2 separate regions of the Homo sapiens genome follow, and region 1 is linked to region 2. Evidence: promoter capture Hi-C in 16 types of primary human blood cells and fetal thymus (Javierre and others, 2016). All regions are on one chromosome and are shown on one strand. The core of a region is centred on a gene start or on the middle of the fragment in contact, and the rest is flanking DNA. Distances in the headings are between cores, read along the strand shown. Region 1 holds the start of FZD10-AS1 (FZD10 antisense RNA 1). Region 2 holds the start of TMEM132C (transmembrane protein 132C).

Region 1 (5,090 bases), core at 1,742-4,241, 1.9 Mb after region 2:
AAGTTTCTGCAGAAACTTGATACTAGATGAGGTCAGAGAAAACAAGGTCTATTCACATCAGACTTCCCTGCATGTGAAGCAATTATTGGTAAATAGATCAGTTTTCATTCTCATACTTGAAGGTAGAATTGGAAATGTCCCGGACTAAATACAAACATTGACGACACGAGAAGACAAGAGAAGAAACACAAGAATCACTTACGTGGATCCTCACACTTGAATGTACCAAGAGAGGTGATTCAAGCAGCAGCTACTGAAAGGCGTTGCGACAGCCTGAACCACTTTTTATCTCAACATTCACCAGCACGATTTTACTTCTGTTTATGAGCTTTCTTCCTATGCCACCAGTTTACTCTTGCAATTAGCTTGTAACATGCTAAGCTTATGGTTTAATTTCTTTCTGTTGCTGAAAGACTCAGTACTTTTTTATCTTAAAGAGATTATTTGGGTTTTCTCTAATCCCATTTCAGAAAACCTCGCACAGTGCTTATAATTTCCATTGACTATTACATAATAAGAAAAGATACAACTTTGATTTTTAGCAATATCCGTGTCAAAGTACTTTTATACTTTTGACTTTGTGAGTTTAAATGGAATGAAACTGGGCCTCTCTTTCAATTCCCCTCCACCTCCAAAAAATATTTAGTTCTTGTTCAAAACACTGCCTGACTCCTGAAATATTCTCTCTCAAAAACCTCATACTTTCCCTGGTGAACGTTTGCAAGAACCTGAAGGCGGATAATGTTTACTGATAGCTTTCCGATAGACAGACATTTTTAGGTGGTTGGGGGTAAAAACATATTCCTTGTCTCTGCACGTTATGTGAAATCATGTTTAATTATAAAGTTTCATTAAAAATCTTTGCTCAAAATTTTAGAAGCCTAATAAGATTTCCATTAATTTAAACATATCACTATTCCCACGACGGCTCCAAAGCTTTCTTTTCCGTCTTTCATCCATGGTTAAATATGTAAATAAAATGTCTAAAGTCATTCTTCAAAGAAGACAAAAGAAAAAAGAGCTGAGGGAAAGACAGCCATAAAATTCCTCCCAATTCTCCATAACATTTGCCAGAGGGGGGTCGGTTGCCAGCCAGGGCTGAGCAGCGGGGGACCCCGGCTGCTCCTTAGACTCACACATCTCAAATCCCACACACAGGAAAAAAAATAAAATAAAATATCTTTTCAGCTGGGGCCATCAAAAGAGCCTTTTCATTTATTAGTTACAGACTTATCTTCCAGTTGCTGATTTCTCAGAACCCTCATTTCTCTATAATAAAGTCTATTTGTTGGTTTCCATCTCAGCTGGACAGGGCGAAGCACTTCTGCAGACATTTTTATAAAAAACGAGAGAAAAAGGCAATCTGAAGTGGTTATAGCTAAAATAATGGGCCTGAACGTGGCTGAATTAAAACAGCACAGAAAAGATCAATTAGGAGGCACTTTCTCAAATAGCTCACACCCAGCTCCCGGCGTTTGGCTCTCACTCTTGCACTAAATATTTCTAATAGTTGCTGAGGGAGAGACACAAAAAGGAAAAGAAGGAAAATAGGGCCCAGGAAGGACCTTTGCCAGGAAAATTCTAGAAAAGCCAAGTGATTTCCGCTGAATTAATTTTAATTTAAAGGTCCTGAAAAATTACTCACTAGACAAAAAACAACAACAACAAAAAAAAAAACACTATAATAAAAATGGCAGTCTTTCAAAAATAAAATCATGCAACTTTTCACTTGGGAAATAACACAGTTGAAGGTGGTGTTCTAACTGCCCGGAGTTTCTACCTTCTTTTTCACTTTCTCCCTCACCCCGACTTCCTCCAGCACCTCCTAGTGAGACCCAGGACACCCAGGGACAGCGACCCAGGGGTGGGTGCCTGAACCTGCCTATTAATTCTGGGATTCTGGGCGCTCAAATGTCTGTTGAACGGATGAATGAATGAGTGGAAAGGTGAGATTTCCCCAAGTTTCTTACCGATGTAAAAATTGTAGGGCTTGTTTTAATTAAAAGCCAATACTCTCCGAGGAAGTGGCCCCCTCCTGCACGGCGTGCAGAAAGCTGGTCAGTGAGGGGGGTTCCTGGCGGGCCCCATCTCCTTCCCGGGCGCTTCCTAGGGAGACCTTGCCCCGTGCGCAGCGTCCCCACCGCGGGGGCCCGTGCAGCCGCCCCCCACGCCGGGTGGAGCGCCGCCAACGCGGGAAGCCCCAGCACTGCCTCCAAAGATGTCCGCACACTCCACCCTGCTCCCTGGAACTATCCTCAAACGGGCAGGGGGCAAGCGAGGCCGGTGGACGCGGGACTCGCTCCTCTGACCTCTCCCCGGCCCCCCGGGAGGTAGCGGGAGATTGCACACGCGATCCTGCGAGTTTCCGAACTTTGGAAGATCGTGACCCGGAGAGACCCTGGGAGGAGAGGGCCGGCCACCTCCTAGGGGTGCTGTTTTTTTAAGGGTCAACCCAGGACGCTACGGGAAGCACCTGGCGCATCCTTGGGAACAGTGGGGCTTGGCGGTGGGCGCCCACCGCGAACGCCCTGGGCGGGGGAAGGGAATGGCGGGGGGACGTCGTGTCCTAAGTGACCCCGTCACAGACCCGCCCCAATCCGAGGGGGGATGAGCTCAGAGGACCTGCCCAGGACGCTCCTTCTCCACTTTCCAGGAAAACCGAGCGGCGTGCGCGCCTCCGTGTCCTCGCGGGAGCTGGGGGTCCCCGGGCAGGCGCTGACGCGCTCCTCCCACGACCCACTCCATCCCACCCTACTCCGGGTCCTCCTGCGGGGCTGCAGCCAAGGAGGGCGCTGGCCGGGCACATCACTCGCCAAATCACATAAATACCCCACGAGCGAATGACTTCCTATAATAAATAAACTCAGCCGCCAAGAAGGCATCTCCAGCCCTGCTGGCGCGAGGCCCCGGCTCTGCGGCTTCGGAGGGGGCGGGGGTCACCGCGGTACAAACCAAGCCCGCACTTCCCGCGGGGTGGGAGGCGGTGTTCAAAGTCCCGGGACGCTTCCCGCCCCTCCCCCTTCCCGCCTTCTTAGAGGAGACCTCGGATGAGCGGCCCTAAAATCCGGATTCTCGAGCCCCTCCCCCTCCCCTTAGCTCGTCTCTTTGAAATTTCAAAGAAAATCCCTCCTCGGAGCCCGGAGCCCGGGGCTGGTAGCACCTCCCCAGCCTCAGGAAGATGCGGGCAGGTTTACAAGCAAGGGCCTACTTTATGGCCCAGGCTATAAAACGCAAATCCCACCTCCCTTTGAAAGCGCCCTCCGCCCGGGACTCACCATAAAAGGAAGAGAAGATGCACCCCGCGCCCCTCGCCGCGGACCACCCCCAAACCCCTTCTCCCGCCAGTCCCCGAACTTCCCGTAACCTCGGCGTCCTCGGGGTGCCGGGGACCATCCCGGGGACCGCCGGGAAAGGGGGCGCCGGCGGAGAGGATAGCGAGAGGCAAAGTTGGAGGCCAGGCAGAGAGAGGGCGAGGAGAGGCGGGCGGGACTGCCGGGGAGGGTCGCAGCGCGCAGAGCCCCGCGCGCCAGGCGGGCTGTCCCGGGGCTGGCGGGCGACGCGGGCGGGACTAGGCGCTGCGCCCCCCGCAGGCTGGGCTGCAGGCCGGGGGGGATCGGCCCCCGCGGGGCCCGGGAGCCCGCGGCGGGGCGGCGGGGAGGAGGCTGCCCCGGGCCGCTGCGCTTTCTCATGCAAAGCAGCGGCGGGGCGGGGCGCGCGGCCCGGGGGCGGGGCCTGTCAGCGCTCGGCTTTTCTGCCCCCCTTTGCCTTTTTGCGAGTCTTCTCATCCCGGGACGCAAACCTCGAAACAGCTGCCGGCTGGTCCCGGCCGAGGCCGGCGCAGGGAGGGAGGAGCCGCCCGGGCTGTGGGGGCGCCGCGAGCTGGGCCGGCCTCGGTGTGCCCGCGCCGCCAGCCCGCTCCAGACGCGCCACCTGGGCGCTCCAAGAAGAGGCCGAAGTTTGCCGCGGCCGTGAGTTGGAGCTCGCGCCGGGCCGCTGCGCCGGGAGCTCCGGGGGCTTCCCTCGCTTCCCGGTATTGTTTGCAAACTTTGCTGCTCTCCGCCGCGGCCCCCAACTCGGCGGACGCCGGGCGCGGAGAGCCGAGCCGGGGGCGCTGTGCGCAGCGCTCGGGCCAGGCCGGGCGGGCATGGGCGGGGGCCCGAGCAGGGGTGGAGAGCCGGGGCCAGCAGCAGCCCGTGCCCGGGAGCGGCGGCGCTGAGGGGCGCGGAGCTCCCCGCGAGGACACGTCCAACGCCAGCATGCAGCGCCCGGGCCCCCGCCTGTGGCTGGTCCTGCAGGTGATGGGCTCGTGCGCCGCCATCAGCTCCATGGACATGGAGCGCCCGGGCGACGGCAAATGCCAGCCCATCGAGATCCCGATGTGCAAGGACATCGGCTACAACATGACTCGTATGCCCAACCTGATGGGCCACGAGAACCAGCGCGAGGCAGCCATCCAGTTGCACGAGTTCGCGCCGCTGGTGGAGTACGGCTGCCACGGCCACCTCCGCTTCTTCCTGTGCTCGCTGTACGCGCCGATGTGCACCGAGCAGGTCTCTACCCCCATCCCCGCCTGCCGGGTCATGTGCGAGCAGGCCCGGCTCAAGTGCTCCCCGATTATGGAGCAGTTCAACTTCAAGTGGCCCGACTCCCTGGACTGCCGGAAACTCCCCAACAAGAACGACCCCAACTACCTGTGCATGGAGGCGCCCAACAACGGCTCGGACGAGCCCACCCGGGGCTCGGGCCTGTTCCCGCCGCTGTTCCGGCCGCAGCGGCCCCACAGCGCGCAGGAGCACCCGCTGAAGGACGGGGGCCCCGGGCGCGGCGGCTGCGACAACCCGGGCAAGTTCCACCACGTGGAGAAGAGCGCGTCGTGCGCGCCGCTCTGCACGCCCGGCGTGGACGTGTACTGGAGCCGCGAGGACAAGCGCTTCGCAGTGGTCTGGCTGGCCATCTGGGCGGTGCTGTGCTTCTTCTCCAGCGCCTTCACCGTGCTCACCTTCCTCATCGACCCGGCCCGCTTCCGCTACCCCGAGCGCCCCATCATCTTCCTCTCCATGTGCTACTGCGTCTACTCCGTGGGCTACCTC
Region 2 (5,137 bases), core at 2,523-5,022:
CACATACCAGCAAGTGGCTTAATCTCCTCTATGAGCCTCAGTTTCCTCATCTGTACCAATGTACCAACCAAGGTCACTCACCCCCTCTCTTCCTCACCTCCATAAAGAGAACCCTCAGGTACCCAGTTGTTTGGGCCAAAACAGTGGCCTCTTCTTTCCCTCCCACAGTCCACACCCATCCATCAGCACATCCTGCTGGCTTCACTTCCACTAGGCATCATTAACTGGTCCTTGTCTCGACTTCACAGCTTTGCTCCTCTTACTCCAGTGCAAGCATCCAAGACTCCTGGGTGCCTTGAACCAGCTCTTAATTAGACTTCAGGCTTCCTTGGCTACTCCTATAGGCTGTGGTCTACAATTGGCCAGAGTGATCCTTCTGAAAGAAAAATAAGACCTTTCAGGACTCCAGCTTAGTGTCTTTGCACTTTCATTTTTATCAGCCTGAGAAGCTCTTTTCCCAAAAATTGCTCTCACTTCACCCACCTTCCTAAAGTTGCACCCCCAAATCAGACTTTTCCCTTATTTTGCTTTATTTTTGTTCACAACACATATCACTGCATTAACAGATACAATTACTTGTATATTACTTTAGAGTCTGCATCCTCCACTAGAATGTAAGGTCCATGAATTTAGGACTCTCGTCTATTTTGTTCACTGGCAAAACCCCAAAATTTGGGCCTGACAAATAGTAAGCAAGTGACACCTATTTGTTAAATGAATGAATGAATGAATAAAATGTCCAAGGATAATAATAATACACCCCACGAGTGTGAAGAGGATTAAATCAGATAGTGCCTATATGTTTTAAGAACAATGACAGGACACAGAACTAAGCATAGACCTTTCTATCATTTTTCTCCCTTTTTTCCTTCTTCCTCATTTTTTAATCGCTAATAGTAAGCACCATAGTCAGGACTTGATACTCAGTTTGCGGGATGACCATAGCTGTTTCATGAGGCCAACATATAGCCTTTCTTTTCCATGTCCTCGGCAATATATACCCATATGTCCCGTCTACAGGTAGACAATGCAAGAAGCCTTTGAACTAAAATCACAAGTTCCACCCCTCATTTTATGCGATATTCACAATTTAACATTTAAGCATGAACAAAACAATCTGAAGTTGCCTCATTGACTTAGGAACCCTGAAACCCTGTGGAAGCAGCAGGTTTCCTCTTTCCAATCATTCTCCTCTCCCATAAATTATGTTAAGTGCTTCCATGTGCCCACAGTCCTTAAGGAATTCTGCAACAGCCTTTGAGGAGATTAGAAGCCTCTGATGTTCCTTATGAAATTCAGAAAACCATCTGGAAGTAATCTAAGTTAAGGAATTAATGATTTGGGGGTTAAATGATACATGACTTAAAAAAAATAAATACAGAAAACTTTATTAGCCCATGAACCTCAATTTTTGTGGATTTACCTATGAAAGAGAAATTGACTATATCATCTGTTTTATTTGTTTGTTCAGTTTTGTGTGCATGTTTGTTTGACTGCTCTTGAGAGGGACACGCAATAGATTAAATGGAGTCCTAAAGGAAGGTTTGCAGAGAAGCTTTCATTTGCTGGGTCTCCTGAAGGCTCTCACAGGGGATGCCCGGAGGCATCATAGTCTCAAGGGGCATCTGTGATTCAGGATCACCTGAAGACAGTGGCTGCCTTTGGGGTGCTGTGCAGTGAGCTTATCTGATTGAGAATCCTTTCCCCACTCCAACCCCATGTTGAATTAGTATTTATTTTGCTGTGGCTTGTTTGGTAGCCCCTGGTTTTGATTATTTGCATCACAGAGATGTAGTCCAGGACCTGACTTGTCTTTGCAGTAGGGACAGCAATGTTCTGTGCCAAAAGGAAAGAAATGATGTGGAAAGAAGGTACATTATGAGGCTGCATAGAACAGGGGAGTGGAGGGCACTTCTTTGGGTTTTTATTTTTTGTCCCTGTTATCCAATAGGGAGGAGAGAGGATAAGGCAGATTCCCATCCTCAGTTACAAACAATGGGACATGTGTATTTCTCCCTCATGCTGGGAACATTTAAATGAAAAAAAAATTATTCCCCGGTGATGTTCAGGCTCAAAGCACTGAGAATAAAACGTACCTTCCGTTTTAGGAGCCCAAATCTACTTTACAACTGCCCCCTGCCCCCAAGGTCAGGTCTACACTAGCTGAATGTACTGAAGAATTGGGCGATTATCAGCATAATCCACTTTAAAAATCAAGTCTCTGCTATCCAGGCCTATGAGAATCAAGCTTTTACCGTTCCCTTTGGGGCCTGGATAGTTTTCAAGCTGCCTTCTCCTCACATCATGTGAGTAGAGCCGGCCAAGAAAACCAGGGAGACATCTCCCCCCAGCCTGGCCCAGACTTCCGGGCCCCACCCCAGGAGAGAGCCTCCCACTCTGGCCAGTGCCCTGCAAAGCCTTCGCCCCACCCCGCCCCAATTTCTCCTTATGCCTGGCTCATTCCTTAGGGGCTGAGTTGGGAGATAAGACTTGGGGTTGCAGTTGCTGGGGATCATTCGTTTACATTTCTTTTCTTTCAATCAAGGACTTCTTTTTTTCTTTTGAAATTCTTTCCTGCACTGATGGTGAGAAAAGACCCCTCAGGCTTCCTTTTGATGTTGGACCGAGCCAGCCCACGGTGAGAGGGGATGCTGAGCCCGTGGTGAGGAGCTCAGGACAGGAGGGGACGTCCAGAGACCTCCGAACCCATGGCCCTTCATTCCCAGTCACAAGGGGGGAGTCGGGGTCCCGCCCTCAAACTGCTCAGACCACGCGTGGCAGAAAGAGCAGAGCATGAGCATCAGGAACCGCACAGGGAAGCCGCTGAGATCACCTGGGATCACCACCATGAGGGAGGCCAGCCCTGGAGAAATCAGAGGGAAAAGATAGAGAGAACGAAGTCGGGGGGGGGGGGGGGAGGGCGGATCTTCCTTGTCTGAGTCTGCAGAGAAATTGCCTATTGCAGGAGCAAGTCTAGAGAGGGGCTATTCTCCACCCACTGAAAAGATAATAAAACACATGCTATGGGCGGCGGGGAGATGATTGGGGAGTGGAAGCCCCACAGACATGCAGTGAAAAATGATCCTTTCTTCCCCTCTGCGTTCTCGTCCCCTTCCCAGAGACACCGCTGTGATCTCGTGCCTCGCCCCCTCCGCACACGCACAGGTGCACACCCGCATCTGTCTTGAGCCCGCACCCCGCCTTCACGCTCCGCTGCGCGCTGCTTTTCCGCGCTCAGTGATCCAGTTAGGAGCTCTCCCCGCAGCAGCTGCGCGGGACTTTGCATTCCAGATGTCCCCAGCCCTCCAGGCTAAAGCAGCGGCCACCTGAAGTTGAGGAATGGGGCGTGACGACCACCAGGTCCCGCAGTGACCACGGGAGGGTGGGGAGAAGGAGTCCAGCTCCGCCTTGAGCGTCGGGTCCCTGGGCAGGACCCTCCGGGCCACGGGCCGCTGTCCGTTGGGCACCCGGGCAGGAGTCTGCGAACGCTGAGTTTCTCTGGAAAGGCGCGGACCCCCGGAGGAGCCGTCCCAGCCGCCTGGGGAGACGCCCCCTCCTCTCCCGGTCTTCTTTCCCGGGCACACCCTCCCTAGCCCGGGCGGGGGGGTTCTCCATCTGCCGCCCCTCCCGGCGGGCAGGCGAACTCTCTCCTACCGCACCCTCAATCTGTCCGCGGTCGCGGGGCTCGGCGGGGGCGGGGCCCGGGCGGGGGCGGGGGCGGGGCCGGGGGCGGGGCGGGCCGGCGGCTGCGGAGGCTGCGGAGGCTGCGGGAGAAAAGTTGTCCCGGCCGGAGCGCGAGCAGCGGCGGAGCCGGAGCCGCCAGAGCCAGAGCCGGAGCTGCGGCGGCGTGGACCCGGCAGGGGCGGGCCTCGGACAGCAGAGACGCAGCGGGCCCGGCCGACCGGGCTGCGGGAGTGGCCCCGGGCATGGGGCGGCCGGCGGGGGCCGCGGGCGGGCGCTGCGCTTCGGGCTGGCGGCGGGCTGCGTGAGCGGCCGGGACGCAGGATGCGCTCCGAGGGTGCGGCCCCCGGGCCGGCGGCGCCGCTGTGCGGGGCGCTGAGCCTGCTGCTGGGCGCGCTGCTGGGCAAAGGTAAGGCCGGGGCGGGTGCCTGGCGCGCCGACGCATGCGAACTTCCCGGTTCCGGGGGAGCTCGGGGTGAGGGCAGCCGAAGCGAGGGGTGCGGCGGGGGCCTCGGCGGGGGCTCGGATCCCATCAACAGCGCCTCTGCGGGTGCCGAGCCGCCCCTAATCCAGAAGGGCGCTCCCAGCTGGGCGCCGGGATCCGGGCAAGTTAGGCTGGTCCCGAGTCCCGAATCTCCCACCCCGGACCCCCCAGACCCAGAGCTGCCCCGCGGATGAGGAGGGGGCGTGGCTGAGGGACACGGTGTTTGTTCCCCATCCCTGAGTTCCGTGCGGACCTGCCCCAGCCCCAGCACAGTCACCCTGTGGAACTGGCATCCAGGAGAGGTGCTCCGCTCTGTGCGCTCCTTCCTCCCGGCTGTGTGCTCCCTGTCCACAGCTCCCCATCCACAGCTTCGGCACTGTGGGGCTGGTGCTCCAGGAGGGAAGGCCCGGTTCTTTGCATCCCCTTTCCGCAACCGCTAGGGTCTCTGTGCGGGCCCTAGAGGAACGCTCACTCATCGCGCAGCTCACCAGGGACCCCAGCTTGGCAGAAACCAGGGGCTCTCTGCGGGTTCTCTCAAATGAGTCCTTTGCGGTGGGGGAGCGCGGATGGGGAGGTGGGTGCGTCCCTCGCGACGGGAACTACCTCACCAGCGGTCCTGTCCGGGGCTCCTTCACCTCAGTGTCCTCTTCTCTACAATGGGAGTGACGGCCCTGCTTTGGGTTGGAGGAATTTAAAGGAGTTAACGTATGGCGCCCGCAGGGCTCACGAAAGGTAGCCGTGTGGTTTTTCCGACCTTTTTTATTATGTGCGTGTGCGGCCGAGTGGCCGCGCGGATGCGGCGGCGGGAAGGGCGGGGAGAGGCGGTCTCCAGCCCCAGGAGCCGCGGGGCAGGCGGGGAGCAAGGCCTAGGCTCTGCCAGGGCAGCAGCTGCCCGAGTCCCGGGGCGCGCCCAGGGCGTAGAAAAAGGAGAGCGTCGCTTTCCTGCTCCCCGCGCCCTGGCGAAGGTCTCGG

What was found. Contacts are between HindIII fragments. The CHiCAGO score rates a contact against its expected background, and 5 or more counts as called.
Region 1: a contact is called between the fragment with the promoter of FZD10-AS1 here and the fragment with the promoter of TMEM132C in region 2, in 1 of 17 cell types (M1 macrophages). The highest score is 5.8, in M1 macrophages.

The regions. Positions count from the first base shown.
Region 1 is chr12:130,158,687-130,163,776 of GRCh38, forward strand. FZD10-AS1 (FZD10 antisense RNA 1) reads right to left here and starts at 2,992. Exons shown (of 4, transcript NR_033834.1): 1 at 1,971-2,992. FZD10 (frizzled class receptor 10) reads left to right here and starts at 3,778. Exons shown (of 1, transcript NM_007197.4): 1 at 3,778-5,090. The coding sequence starts at 4,257. RefSeq lists enhancers at 2,258-2,824, 2,825-3,391, 4,978-5,090. The HindIII fragment of the contact is 7,232 bases long and covers 935-5,090 here.
Region 2 is chr12:128,263,398-128,268,534 of GRCh38, forward strand. It overlaps TMEM132C (transmembrane protein 132C), which reads left to right and starts at 3,773. Exons shown (of 9, transcript NM_001136103.3): 1 at 3,773-4,090. The coding sequence starts at 4,006. LOC107987176 (a long non-coding RNA gene) reads right to left here and starts at 3,635. Exons shown (of 2, transcript XR_001749176.1): 1 at 3,174-3,635; 2 at 1-376. RefSeq lists enhancers at 2,919-3,440, 3,976-4,814. The HindIII fragment of the contact is 9,837 bases long and covers 2,247-5,137 here.